Regions from separate parts of the Homo sapiens genome. Here all the other regions are linked to region 1. Evidence: promoter capture Hi-C in 16 types of primary human blood cells and fetal thymus (Javierre and others, 2016). All regions are on one chromosome and are shown on one strand. The core of a region is centred on a gene start or on the middle of the fragment in contact, and the rest is flanking DNA. Distances in the headings are between cores, read along the strand shown.

Evidence for each region. Contacts are between HindIII fragments. The CHiCAGO score rates a contact against its expected background, and 5 or more counts as called.
Region 2: a fragment that was not itself captured here is called in contact with the fragment with the promoter of FAM200B in region 1 in 1 of 17 cell types (naive CD8 T cells); the score reaches 5.7 in naive CD8 T cells.
Region 3: a contact is called between a fragment that was not itself captured here and the fragment with the promoter of FAM200B in region 1, in 1 of 17 cell types (naive CD8 T cells). The highest score is 6.7, in naive CD8 T cells.

The regions. Positions count from the first base shown.
Region 1 is chr4:15,679,481-15,683,525 of GRCh38, reverse strand. It overlaps FAM200B (family with sequence similarity 200 member B), which reads right to left and starts at 1,699. Exons shown (of 2, transcript NM_001145191.2): 1 at 1,625-1,699. It also overlaps a transcript of FBXL5 not described here. RefSeq lists enhancers at 1,430-1,479, 1,490-1,729, 1,900-2,199. The HindIII fragment of the contact is 4,207 bases long and covers 585-4,045 here.
Region 2 is chr4:20,701,247-20,705,389 of GRCh38, reverse strand. PACRGL (parkin coregulated like) reads right to left here. Exons shown (of 9, transcript NM_001258345.3): 2 at 857-924; 3 at 576-730. The coding sequence starts at 908. Among named protein-coding and RNA genes, the nearest start is that of PACRGL, 2.9 kb to the right of the region's middle. The HindIII fragment of the contact is 196 bases long and covers 2,436-2,631 here.
Region 3 is chr4:10,115,453-10,119,551 of GRCh38, reverse strand. WDR1 (WD repeat domain 1) reads left to right here and starts at 2,753. Exons shown (of 15, transcript NM_017491.5): 1 at 2,753-2,901; 2 at 3,318-3,439. The coding sequence starts at 2,886. LOC124900666 (a long non-coding RNA gene) reads right to left here and starts at 2,463. Exons shown (of 2, transcript XR_007058030.1): 1 at 334-2,463; 2 at 75-225. It also overlaps the pseudogene RNA5SP155. RefSeq lists enhancers at 1,252-1,341, 1,422-1,521, 3,292-3,441, 3,092-3,896 and silencers at 2,442-2,561, 2,572-2,981, 3,062-3,211. The HindIII fragment of the contact is 407 bases long and covers 1,490-1,896 here.

The sequences.
Region 1 (4,045 bases), core at 450-2,949:
CTTTTAACTATTCCATTCTTTCATATTCTTACTATTCACGTTTCAATCCCCCCTTGAAAGTTTGTAACACTAGTTCAGTTACTATTGTATTAAAAAGATATTTTTAAAGGGTTTACTCTCCCTCCTAAATCAGACAGTTCATCTATAGTAACAGCAGTGGCAGTATATTAGGGAACAGGTCTGGTAGATGTGGTGATGAAAGCATGGGGAAGTTTTTTTTTAACTCAATAGGATGTGAGGTATCATCTAAGTAAGAGGCCGAAGTAGAAAATGTTGCAAGTTTGTCAGAAGAAAATATGAAATATTAATAATTGTTAAGGAATGTGATAATATGATGGACTAGGAAAATGTTTTTGGATTTTTAGTCTGGCTGGTTGTCTTACTTGCTTAATGCAATGATTGTTATTGTTACAATGCTTGATAGTCTAAAATTCCCCGTCACTAATCTTTTATATCCTAAGATATATCTCTAGTGCGCTGTATCATCTTCTGAAAATACAGCTCTAATCAGCTTCCTCATAACTGGAAAAGCATTTAATGGCGCCGAGCTTGTGTAAGCTCTTCAGGATAATATCCTTTAAGCTTAAGCCTCATCTTTCCAGGTTTCTCCTTCATCACATGATCTCCATACATTCTACATTTCAGTACTAAAAGTATGGAAATTCTTGAAATAGTTCATGCACTTTCATGTCTCTGCTTTTGGCTAGTATTCCTTTTGCCTGGAATACTCTTGTTGGGTCACATGAAGTCCTATTTATTCTTTTCTACTTAGTTCAAATGCTACAGCAGCCATGCATTCAACTAACATTTAGCTACCTACAGTGCCTAAAGTATGTCAGGCACTGGAGATACTAAACAATGAACAGTGACATATTAAAATAACAGAATATCTGTTCAGCTATTAAGATGAATAAGGTGGAGTTACACAACACTGACAAATCTCAAAAACATTATGTAAAACAAGCTAGCTGCAAAAAGATGTACACATTACAGATTGCATAAAGGTGGTTAGGAGAGTGGTTTCCTTAGGCAAAAGGAAAGAGAATGAGACGGGGTAGAGCTGACAAAGGACTTCAATCACTTATATAATCATTTATTTCTCCAATTCAGTGGTGAGTACACATGTGTTATAGTTTTGTTTCTACCTTTTTTCTGTCTAAAATCGTCTATTTAAAAAAAGCATCTTTAAGGCTGGATACCTTCCTGAAGGCACTGGAAATCTGTCATACTGCCACTAACTTAAAATTACCTTCCACCTCTTGCATTTCCCTTTGTTTCCTGTTTTGACATTGCGCACACATTAGTTAGTACACTAGGCCTTAAGAGTGGAAACTGCCAGGTACCAGCTTTAGCTAGATTAAAACATGACCCTCTTCCCAGGAGACTCCTGACCGGTTTTCTCGTCCTCCAGGGACCCAGCTAGGATTTCAATGAACTTTGGCCTGAACCCCTCGGCCGACCCTAGAATAATCGCCCTTCAGGCCCGGATTGCTTCTGCTCTCACCTTCCCTCAATTCATACGGGGGGCAAAACCAGACTGTATTTCCCGCAACGAACCCTGGAATGCTTCGCTTTAGCGGACTCCGGTCCACTCCCATCAGAGGATGCCCTTCTTTCGCCTCACCTCCAGCCCAGCCGCAGCGACCCGGCCGGGCCCAGCGCTGCAAGCCTCAGGTCTCTCCAGCAGAGCTGCGCCTCTGCTCTCCCCACACTTCCCTCCGCAACACCACTTCCGGCCTACCTCACAAATTCCCCATTCCAGCCGAAAAGAACTGGATCGGCCCTCTGCGCATGCGTGAGACCGGGGCGGTGTCCGGGGGTGCCGGGAGCGGGCGGTGCAGGCTCCACTTTTCCACTTCCCTACGCTCTGTCGGCAGTCTCGCGGGATTTCCGCCTCTCGCGGGAGTTATTTGAATGCCAGGGCGGTAACGACTCCCTAGGCGCCTGGGGCCCTCTGACAAGAAACCCTAGGAGACACCGCGGAGAACTCTGCCTCTGAGCTGGTGGGCGGGCCGGATGTAGCCGAGCGCGGACAGGGCTAGTCCGGACAGAGTCCCAGAGCCATGGGAGCGAAAAGAGACTGCTGCGGATTAAGGAGGCCTTTCGGTTGGCGCAGCAGCCACACCACAACCAGGCGAAGCAGGTAGTGGCGCTGAATCGCTCCTGCCGCGGGGTAAGCGCTCCCGGCCCGCGCCCGCCCCAGCCCCGACCTGGCGGGGCCAGGACGCTGGTTCATACACTCCAAGGTGATTTTCATAGTCTTTGTGGAAGAATTAGAGAATTTTGAACTTTGATATCATTGCACGTGTTTACTTATTTAGAGAATCGCATTGTGTTTAATAATCATAGTATTCCTGTGCGACTCTTTAGGTTAGCAGATCATTGATTTTTAACATAAAACTGCATTTCATTAAATAGATTTAAATATGTATGTATATTTCTGTCCTCTAATGATTGTAACAAAGCAGATTTCTTGATCATTAACAAGATAGGTTCGTGCAAATAAGTGCATCTTTGTCACAAACCAAATTTTTTTGTGGTTGAGATATATATTTATATATATATGTGAAACAAAAAACATATAAAGGAGAATATATATATATTCTTATATATATAATATATACTGCTTTATTTTTTTGGGTTGACATATATATGTCATATATAGTTTTTTTTTAAATTCTACCTTAAACAGGGAAACATGTTAGATACAGGAGCTTGAATTTCAACTCTGAAACTTAATGCGACTTTATCAGCATTTCTCTTTCTCAAGCTACTTACTTCTTGTAGGATTACACAGTCAAATTTTTAAAAATTTTTGATTCTCCAACTGGATTTTTTTTTTTAATTTTTGAGACGGAGTCTCACTCTCTCGCCCAGGCTGGAGTGCAGTGGCGCAGCCTCGGCTCACTGCAACCTCAGCCTCCTGGTTCAAGCGATTCCCCTGCCACAACCTCCCGAGTAGCTGGGATTACAGGCGACCGCCACCATGCCAGGCTAATTTTTGTATTTTTCAAAAATACAAAGACGGGGTTTCACCATTTTGGCCAGGCTGGTCTCGAACTCCTGACCTCAGGTGATCCACCCACTTGGGCCTCCCAAAGTGCTGGGATTACAGGGGTGAGCCACTGCACCCAGCCTCTCCCACTGGATTTTTAAAGCTGTTTTTTGATTAGCAAATATTTCTTTTACATGGCTCAAACTACATGAAAAGAAATGCAGCAAGAAACACTTCCTCCCTAGTCCCTATCCAGTACCATTCCTAATAGTCTTCACGGGTAATCATTTTAAATTAGTTTCTTGTTTATCCTTCCGGTCTTCATGCAGAGATACAAGCAGATGAGAATATACAGTCTTATTTCACTCGGTCTCTCCTTCAATATTTTCTGCATTGTTCATGTTTTTTTTTTTCCTGTTTTACTGTATATTCTGGATATTCCTCCTTATCAGTATTCAATTAAACTTATTTTTTCCTGTCACATACTCCATTTTGTAGATATACTCCAGTTTATACAGTAAATCACGCGTAGGTGGACACTTGGCGTTGTTTCCAGTCTTCAGATATTAGAAACAACTCTTCAGTGAATACATGTCATTTCTACATTTGCAGGGGTAACTGTCAGATTCTGAAAAGAATTGCTGGATCCAAGAGGAAATGTGTTTGCAAATATGATAGATATTTACAGTTGCCCTTCATAGAGTGATCCATTTTACACTCCTATCAGCAGAGAAGAGAATGAGACATACTGCTTTTTTTTTTTTAGGGGGATTGGAAAGAACAGGAATATAATTGGGATTTTTTGATAGATAAGTAAAATCCTGAAAAGTTTGGGAATATGAGTTAGAATGATAAAACATATAACAAAAATAACTTGTTGTGTGATAAGAAGGCTTAATTTTAAAAAGCAGTATTGAATTGGGACCATTGGGTGTTGGTTTTTTGTTTTTTTGTTTTTTTTTTTTTTTGTTCCTGAACTGTACCTTTAGCATATTTCTCTAGATAGATTCAAGGATATTTAGAAAAATCAAAATCTCTTGTGATCAAAAT
Region 2 (4,143 bases), core at 1,284-3,783, 5.0 Mb before region 1:
CGAAGGCTGAAATCACTAACATCTCACCCTACCAAAGTTGGGCATGGGGCAAATAACACCTGGTGTTGTTGCACAGGTGTGTTCACTTCTGAATATTTTTACTGCATAAATCCCATGTTTATTAAATCTCATTAAATTGTTAGGAGAGGGCAAAGGAGGTTAGTACTACAACTAGGATTTCTGGTGGAACTAATTTACAGAACACAGGAAAGGTCAGAGACCTTTATGCAACTATAGAAGCACGAAAAGCATTCTGTGGCAACTGAATACAGTTTATTCATTGATATGGGGAAGTAAAACAACACTGCAAATAAAATCTAAAGCTAAAGTGCAATTTTCTATGCACTACAATGCGATATCCCAAACAGGTTAACTTCTATGTCTCCTTACCTCCATACTCACTCCCACATGTGACTGATTATCTCAGTTCTTCATCATAATAACCACATGCCCTTCTCTCATTATTAGCTCAAAACTAGCAAAGGGACAAAACTCAACACAGCATCCAGCATTGTTCAATACTGTGCGAAATGCCTTTAAAAAATCTACTGAGTTAGGAATAGTTTTGGACCTACCGGATTAATTGTTTTAGGGTTCAGTTTATCACTTGGTCTAGGATGAAGTTTTCTTGCAGACTCTGGAGAACTGGTTGACAATGAGGATTTGCTTCCCTGAACTGCATTCCTGTGTTTTAACTGTGTGCTTGATGATGTCCTTTGATCATAGTTACCTGGAAAAAAACAGAACATCAATAGAAACCAGGTACAAGCAATAAAGTTCACCCTGCATCCATCTGTAGCACAGAAAGTGCCATGAACAAACTTGACCTCTTCACTTAAAAACAAAAGCTCTGTACCTGTTGCTCTGTTTTTCAACTGTGTACCTCCAGAGCCCTCTGATTTCTGCATTGCTTCCCTTTCACTCCTGCAGTTTAAAAAAAAAAAAGTTGATTTCAAAATTTGTTTGGAGGGGCATTTGTTATCAATAAAAAGACAAAACCAGAACAGAGTATACAATACAGTAAAAGACACACAAAAAAGTTGATATGGAGCAAAATACTGGAAAAGACTAATGAGAAAACATGAAATTATGTCAACTTCAATAGTATCAATAACAGCAAAATAATCATCTCCAAGAAATGATGTACAAAAGTCAACTTTTTTTCCATTCAAATTGTCAAAATAAACTGTTAGAAACTCACTTCCAATTCTCTGACCACATTAGAAAACACAGACTAGATTTCTGAAAGGAGTGGTTGGTACATTCCCTGTCATCTTCTCCATCTTCTCTGGCCTCTGTATTTCCAAAGCTCCAAATGTTAACATGTGCACATCAAGCTCTACTTTTCCAGTGACATAATGAACTCTCCTACCCAATGTATCACAAGCTCCTTAAACTGAATGTAACTAAAACTGAGGTTGTCACACTGAAGTTATTATGAACCCCTTGTTAACCCAGGGTACCACCAGTTTTCTGGTCCTCAGACTGAAAAACTTAGAATCACCATTGTCTCCTTTTCCTTCATTTCCTACACTCAATGCTACACGTGATGAGAAAGAAAGAGCTTTGGGCTCAAATATGGGTCTGCATCTCAGTTCTACCAATTATGAAATTTATGAATTTAGGCAGATTATTTAACCTCCCTAAACCTCGACTTCCTGACCTGTTTAAAGAGGGAAATAAAAGCCTGTCAAGGTTTTCTGGAGGTGCAAATGAAATTATCTCTCAAGTTACTCACCCAGGGAATACTGGTTCACTTTTCCCTTACACAGTTGCTTTTTTTCTGCTAATGGAGGACTCTAGTTCATACCCCAAGGTTTCCAGCTAATCCAATCAATTTCTACAATTGTATCTCTAGCAAGAAATACACACACACAAACACACACACACACACACACACACACACACACACTCATATACCCAAGTGCCTACTGGTATTTTTAGGCCAAGCTTCATTCCCAACTTCCATGAAGCCTTTCCTCATCTTGGTTTCTCAAATGTGTATTTCTATGGCATTGATTTCTATCCTGTGTCCTTATTTCTACTTGATTACTCTGTTCCCTCACTTCCACGACAATCTAGTTATTCTATTAGCACACGTCTCATTTTAATGCCTTTAATAATGACTGCCTCTCAAGTATAGTGTAAGATCTTCCCTTAGGACAACACAGGTAAAGTCCTCTTCCACCTCCAAATGACACTTTTTCAAATATTTGATGGCATTAACTCTTAACTCCTTCATTTTTTCTTCTTCAGGATAAACACTGATACTTTTTAAAATGATTCCTCACATGAAATGCTTTTAATCCACTTAACAAGTTAGAAATCCTCAAAAGGAGGACAAAGCTCCATGTTATAAAATTTAGCCAGATATCTCAAACATGATGTACCAGCTTAAAGTCTGATACCATGTAAAGATAACCTAAATGTAAGCTTGCTTCTGCACACTGAATAATTTCAATTTCCTTGATTTAGTACATTGATCTCATTTATCTCATCCCACTACCAGCAGATGACTTACTTCCCAGTATCACACTTCACCTCCATTCCCAGGGCCATTTTCTAATACTACGGTAATTAAAATCTCATTAAAGTTGTCAGATAATAGTCTAAAATAAGCTGAGAGAAGCTTTAAATATGTTAACCTACTATTGTACTTCTGTGATCATTCAACAAGTATTTAATATTGTGCCTGACTTCTGTTTTGAGAAGCTCCTGGAGGGGGAACAACACAAGTTTCTATTGAAAAAAAAAATGCATCAGTTTCCTCAACTCTATAATTGGGCATAATTACAGGAACTACTTTAAGTGTTGATGAAGACTAGTAAGAATATATGTAAAACAACATTTCCATAATGGGAGGCATGCAGTAAGGGCCACATGAGTCTTAGCTATTATTATAATTTTCTTTACAATGGTACAAAGTGTTCTTCAGTATTACTATTACTAATAGTGAAACCACATGTTTTGTCATTTTTAAAAAATCTGGCTTAACATCTTGGGCTACATCAATTTGAAGACCAGCTGAGGTCCAATTTCTCTTGATCATCAATTGTTAACAGCTGCAACAGATAAAAGCGATGCACAGCAAAGACGCGTACCCACAAACATAACAAGGGCACAGGCAGCCATATCAAATTATGATGCACATTTTTCAATACTACCTACCAATTCAGTGGAAGTTTTGGATGGAATTTTATGGCTAAATTTCTATCTTCCTTCACGTCAAAAAGTTGTTCCTGTAACAAACTAATGGGGAGGTGTTGCATTATATTTTGAATGAGTTCAAAAAGTCACCAAAACTCATTTGAAAAAGTTTTAAACATGGTAGAAAATCGAGCTTCTACAGTTTATGAGTATACAGGACAACTTTTATGTACAATATATAATTTTCAGCATTAAACATACAGTAATGCAAACACGTCTACATCCCCTTTCAAAATCCTGTATTAGAGAATTTCCTTCCAAAACAATTGCTTTTTCACTTAAAATTTTTATCCTTTACCTTAACGACAAATTACAGTTGGCTCTCCGTATATGCGGGTTCCACATCTATAGATTTGACCCAACCACGGATACGGAGAGCAGACTGGAGGACTTTGGCATGGGTGGATTTGGGTATCTGAAAGAGACTGGGGGGAGGGAGGGAGTCCTGGAGCCAATTCTCCACGGACACCAAGGGACGACGGGAAATGTAGTCAATTTTTTAAAATAATATCCACCTGGAAGCATGCCACTGACAAGCCTGGAGCATGAGTTGTTTGTGAAAGCAAGCTTTAAAAATCTTATCCTTGGTAACCCTTTCAAGTGGTTTTTCATTAAATAACATGTAGAGGATGGTGTAAAGGGGCAGTGATGGGGAGAAGCGAACCTGTAAGAACTATTTTGTGTTACAAATATTATCAAGGTCACCGCTCATTCTTTTACAAAACAAGATAAACATTCTAATTATAGATATTAGAATCCATAAATCCACTTAACTTCGAACACCTAAACTATGTCACAATATCAGAAAGCAAACAAACCACCCTATGAAGCCCACACATTCCCCTTAAAGCTTCCTTGGTTGCTACAGGTCATCTATCTACAAGGGACTGCCGGTATCTGTGTCAATGGTAGGAAAGTGTACTTTCTATCATTGTT
Region 3 (4,099 bases), core at 444-2,943, 5.6 Mb after region 1:
CACCACCACCATAAAGCCTCTGCAGCTCCAACATGTAACTTTCAAGCTAAAAATAAGCTGTAGAGCCCAGCAGCTGGGAGTTTGGATATGTTTTACTCAAGTTCGACTGTTTAGTTTTCAGTGTCAACTCCAGCAAGGCTTTATGCACGAGTGTAAAGGTTACCAGCTTGCAAGAGCTTGAAGTTGGTCCTTCGTTTTCTTAATCTTGTTACACGAATGCACTACCTGTGAATGCAATTATACCATTTGTTTTAAGGGTCTCAAGGTGATTTGATGAGTTCTAAGTTATCAAAGCAGATGCAGCGGCCTACAAGCCGGGCCTGCGTATCTTACTTTAGGAATCTGTTTTGTACATTCTCCACGGCTCCTCAGTTCGCAGAGCTACTTTCATATCCGTTATTTCCTGATTAACAGTTGTGGGTGGGGAGTGGGGTCATCCCTAGGAGCATCTTCCAGGTGTCAGGGTTATTCCTGAGAGTTAAAGTTAGGGAACGCGGGAATGAGAAGCAGTGTTTGCAAGGGGTTGAAGTTGCAATTTAAAATGAGACCGGTGACACTCATCAACTAACATTTGAGCAATTAAGTACTTCTGAAGGACACAGGAGTCAGCCAAGTAGATCTCAGGTAAGAGTTTCAGGAAAACACCCTCCGAAGCCAGTACCCAAGGCAAAGATGATACAGATGAGGGGAGGCGGACAACGGAGTCTAAGTGACCCGGAGACTGTCATCCAGGACCCTAATGGGCCGTTTTCAAGACTAGCTTTTACTTCATGAAACTTGGAGCCCCTACAGACAAGCTGAGGAATATTTTACTTCGGATGGATCACTCAGCTACCTGGAGAACACACAAGGTTAGGAAGAATAGGAGACAGGCAACATGGCCACTAACCCAGGTGAGCCACGAGAGACTGCTCTACAGAAGTAGGTAGCAAGAGACTAACCTTGATACAACCTTAAGCAGAACAGACCTTTCAGAGAAGCAGGAACCGCTCACAGCGTGGGTTTCAGAGTTTTTAGCTACCCGCAAGTACTTTGGTTTCTCCCACTTTTACCACCCTCCTAGCCCCCAGAGCCCCAATGGAAAACTTGTACCCACGCTACTGAAAGACGAGACTAGAAGCTTGGACACTTCACATTCCCTGCTCTCCCTTCCACAATTGAGCCACTGCCCTGGTTTTAGAAGTGGGGCTTGTTTTGCTCTGAAGTAACCCTTAACGTCCTTAGAAGTAGCAGCTCCCCTACCCCTCTCCCCACGCCTTTGCCTTTTAAAAACCTTAACTTTTGAGAGAGAGAAACAGCACAAGTTCAGGCCCAGCAGAGTAACCCCTACGTTGTTGCCAGCAACTACTTCAAGGGCAGTTAACCGTGCTTAAAGACGCCAAAAGCATCCATCTCCCGCTTACAACAACATTTAGCTACCCCCCACCCACGTACTTTGCTTTCTCCCACTTTTACAACCCTCCCACCCCCAGAGCCCCGAGGGAAAGCTTGTACCCATTCTACTGAAAGATGAGACTAGAAACTTGTACACTTCACAGCGCCTGCTCTCCAGCTGAGCCACTACCCGGGTTTTACAAGTGGGGCTTGTTTTGCTTTCTTAGGAAATAACCTTTAACTTCCTTAAAAGCAGCAGCGCCCCCACCCCCACTTTTGCCTTTCAAAAGCTAAACTTTTGAGAAAAAGCACGAGTTCAGGCCTAACAAAGAGTAACCCTTACGTTCTTGTTGCCAGTAACTACTTCAAGAAAAAGCACTTAACCGTGCTTAGAGAAAGACGCCAACAGCATTCCTCTTCCACTTACAACAACATTCAGCTACCCGCCCGCACCCCGCCAAATACTTTGCTTTCTCCCACTTTTACAACCCTCCCAGCCCCCAGAGCCCCAAGGGGAAAGCTTGTACCCATCCTACTGAAAGATGAGACTAGAAACTTGGACACTTTACAGCCCCTGCTCTCCCGCCACAACTGAGCCACTACCCTGGTTTTAGGAGTGAGACTTGTTTTGTTTAGGAAATAACCTTTAACTTCCTTAAGACCGACAGCTCCCCCATCCCCCACGCCTTTTTTGCCTTTCAAAAGCTCAACTTTTGAGAGAAAAAGCACGAGTTCAGGCCCAACAAAGAGTAACCCCTACGTTCTTGTTGCCAGCAACTACTTCAAGCAAGGGCACTTAACCGTACTTTAAGAAGACGTAAAAAGCATCCCTCTCCTGCTTACAAAACCCGAGCAGGAGGACTGGCGGCTGGGCAACGCCCGGGACCGGTCAAAAAGGAGAGGCCGGGGAGCGCCCGCCACGCAACGCGGTCACAGGTACAGAGAGGTTTTTCCAGACCCCCACCAAAGCCCGCCAGTACTTTCAGCGTCTTTAAGACCCCCCCGCAAATAAACTTCCTACAGCCCAGCTTCTCCTACAAGCTAGCAACAGAAAGGCACCCACCCCCCGACTCCCAGAAGCATTCTGACGCGGCTGCTTGTCTGCGCCGCCTTTTCAAGGGCCCGCGGGGCGTGCTATACGTCACTTCCGGGGCGGGGCGAGCAAGGCGGAGGCGGGGCCGGGGCCGGCGGGGGAGGGGAGCGCCAGGTCCGCGCAGGCTCGCCGGGACCGCAGCCGCCGAGCCGAGCGCTTGACTATATATGGTCAAAGCTGGGGGCGAGCCGCGCGCGGGACCGCGCTTCCGGGTTCGGGGCGTCCGCAACCACAGCGCGCAGGGCAGGCGCGAGCTGGCCTCTGAGCCCCGGCCTCGGACCGCCCACTCCACTCCCGGCACGCCCGGTGCCGCCTTCCGGCTCCAGTCCCCGGGCTCGGCCTCGGCGAGGTGTAATTCGCAGCGCGGGCCGGCCCCGGAGGCTCTCGGCGAGCGCGGCGCGGTAACAAGTGGGCGAGGATGCCGTACGAGATCAGTAAGTGCCGCGGCGCGGGGCCCCCGAGCGGCCGCCGCGCTGCCCCGGCCCCGGTCCCCGGCCCCTAGGCGCCGTGCGGGTGGCGGGGGAGTCCTCGGCGCGGGGGAGGGGTGCGGGCGCCGGCCGGAGGCGTGGCGGGGCCGCCCTCGGTGGTGCAGGGCGGGACCCCCGACGGGGGGTGCGCCCCCAAGTTGGCGCCGTGGGCCGAGCCGGAGGAGCCCCGCTGCCCCCAAGGGCCTGGCCCGGGGCGCGGACCAGGAAGTCGCGCGGTTCCTGGCGCTCGTGGAAAGTGGAGGCCGCCCTCCCGGCGCAGTCAACAGGTGACCGGCCGAGACCGGTCCGGGGCTCCTTCTCCCTTCTGTCCCCGCCGTCCCCGCCCTGCCCTGACATGCCCCGCCGCATTTGTGTCTCCGCAGAGAAGGTGTTCGCCAGCCTCCCGCAGGTGGAGAGGGGCGTCTCCAAGATCATCGGCGGCGACCCTAAGGGCAACAATTTTCTGTACACCAATGGAAAGTGCGTCATCCTAAGGAACATCGACGTGAGTACCCCCTACCCCGGGCGCGGTTCTGCTCCGGAGCCACCTTGGGATGGGATAATTCGCCTTCCTCTCCACTTCTCACCTCCTGCCCATTGGCCCGGGGAGGGTGAGGGCGCCACGCCCCCTCTACCGGGAGCCACACCTCGGAGCCCCGGAAGCCGGCCTCAGATTCACCCAGGTCCTTGTCTGCTCCTTCTTGATGAGGAAACTGAGTCTTAGTTCGTTTCTGTCTACGGTCATAGCACCCTGAAAGCGCCGGATCGCCTCTGATCTTGGAAGCTAAGCACGGTCAGGCCTGGTTAGTACGTGGATGGGAGATTAGATTAGTTCATTCCTTAAAAGCAAGGGCTCCGGATTTGAGGGATCAGACTGACCCGGTCGGCCGCTGCGTGACCTTGAGAAGATTGGCGATTTGGGCATCTCTGAGCCCCAGTTTTCTCGTCTGTAAAACAGATGATGAGATGATGACCACTCTCGCTTCGCCTGCTGGCTGGGCAGATGGAATGAATGAGCTGCTGGCGTCCCTCAAGCCCAGCGGTGCCTGGTGCACTTTGAGCCCTTGCTGAATGGAATGGCACTCAGCTAACTCGCTGTTAATACCCTGGTCTTCCAGTATGGCAGAGCCCGGAAAAACACCCGGGCCTCTGGGCCAGCCAGATC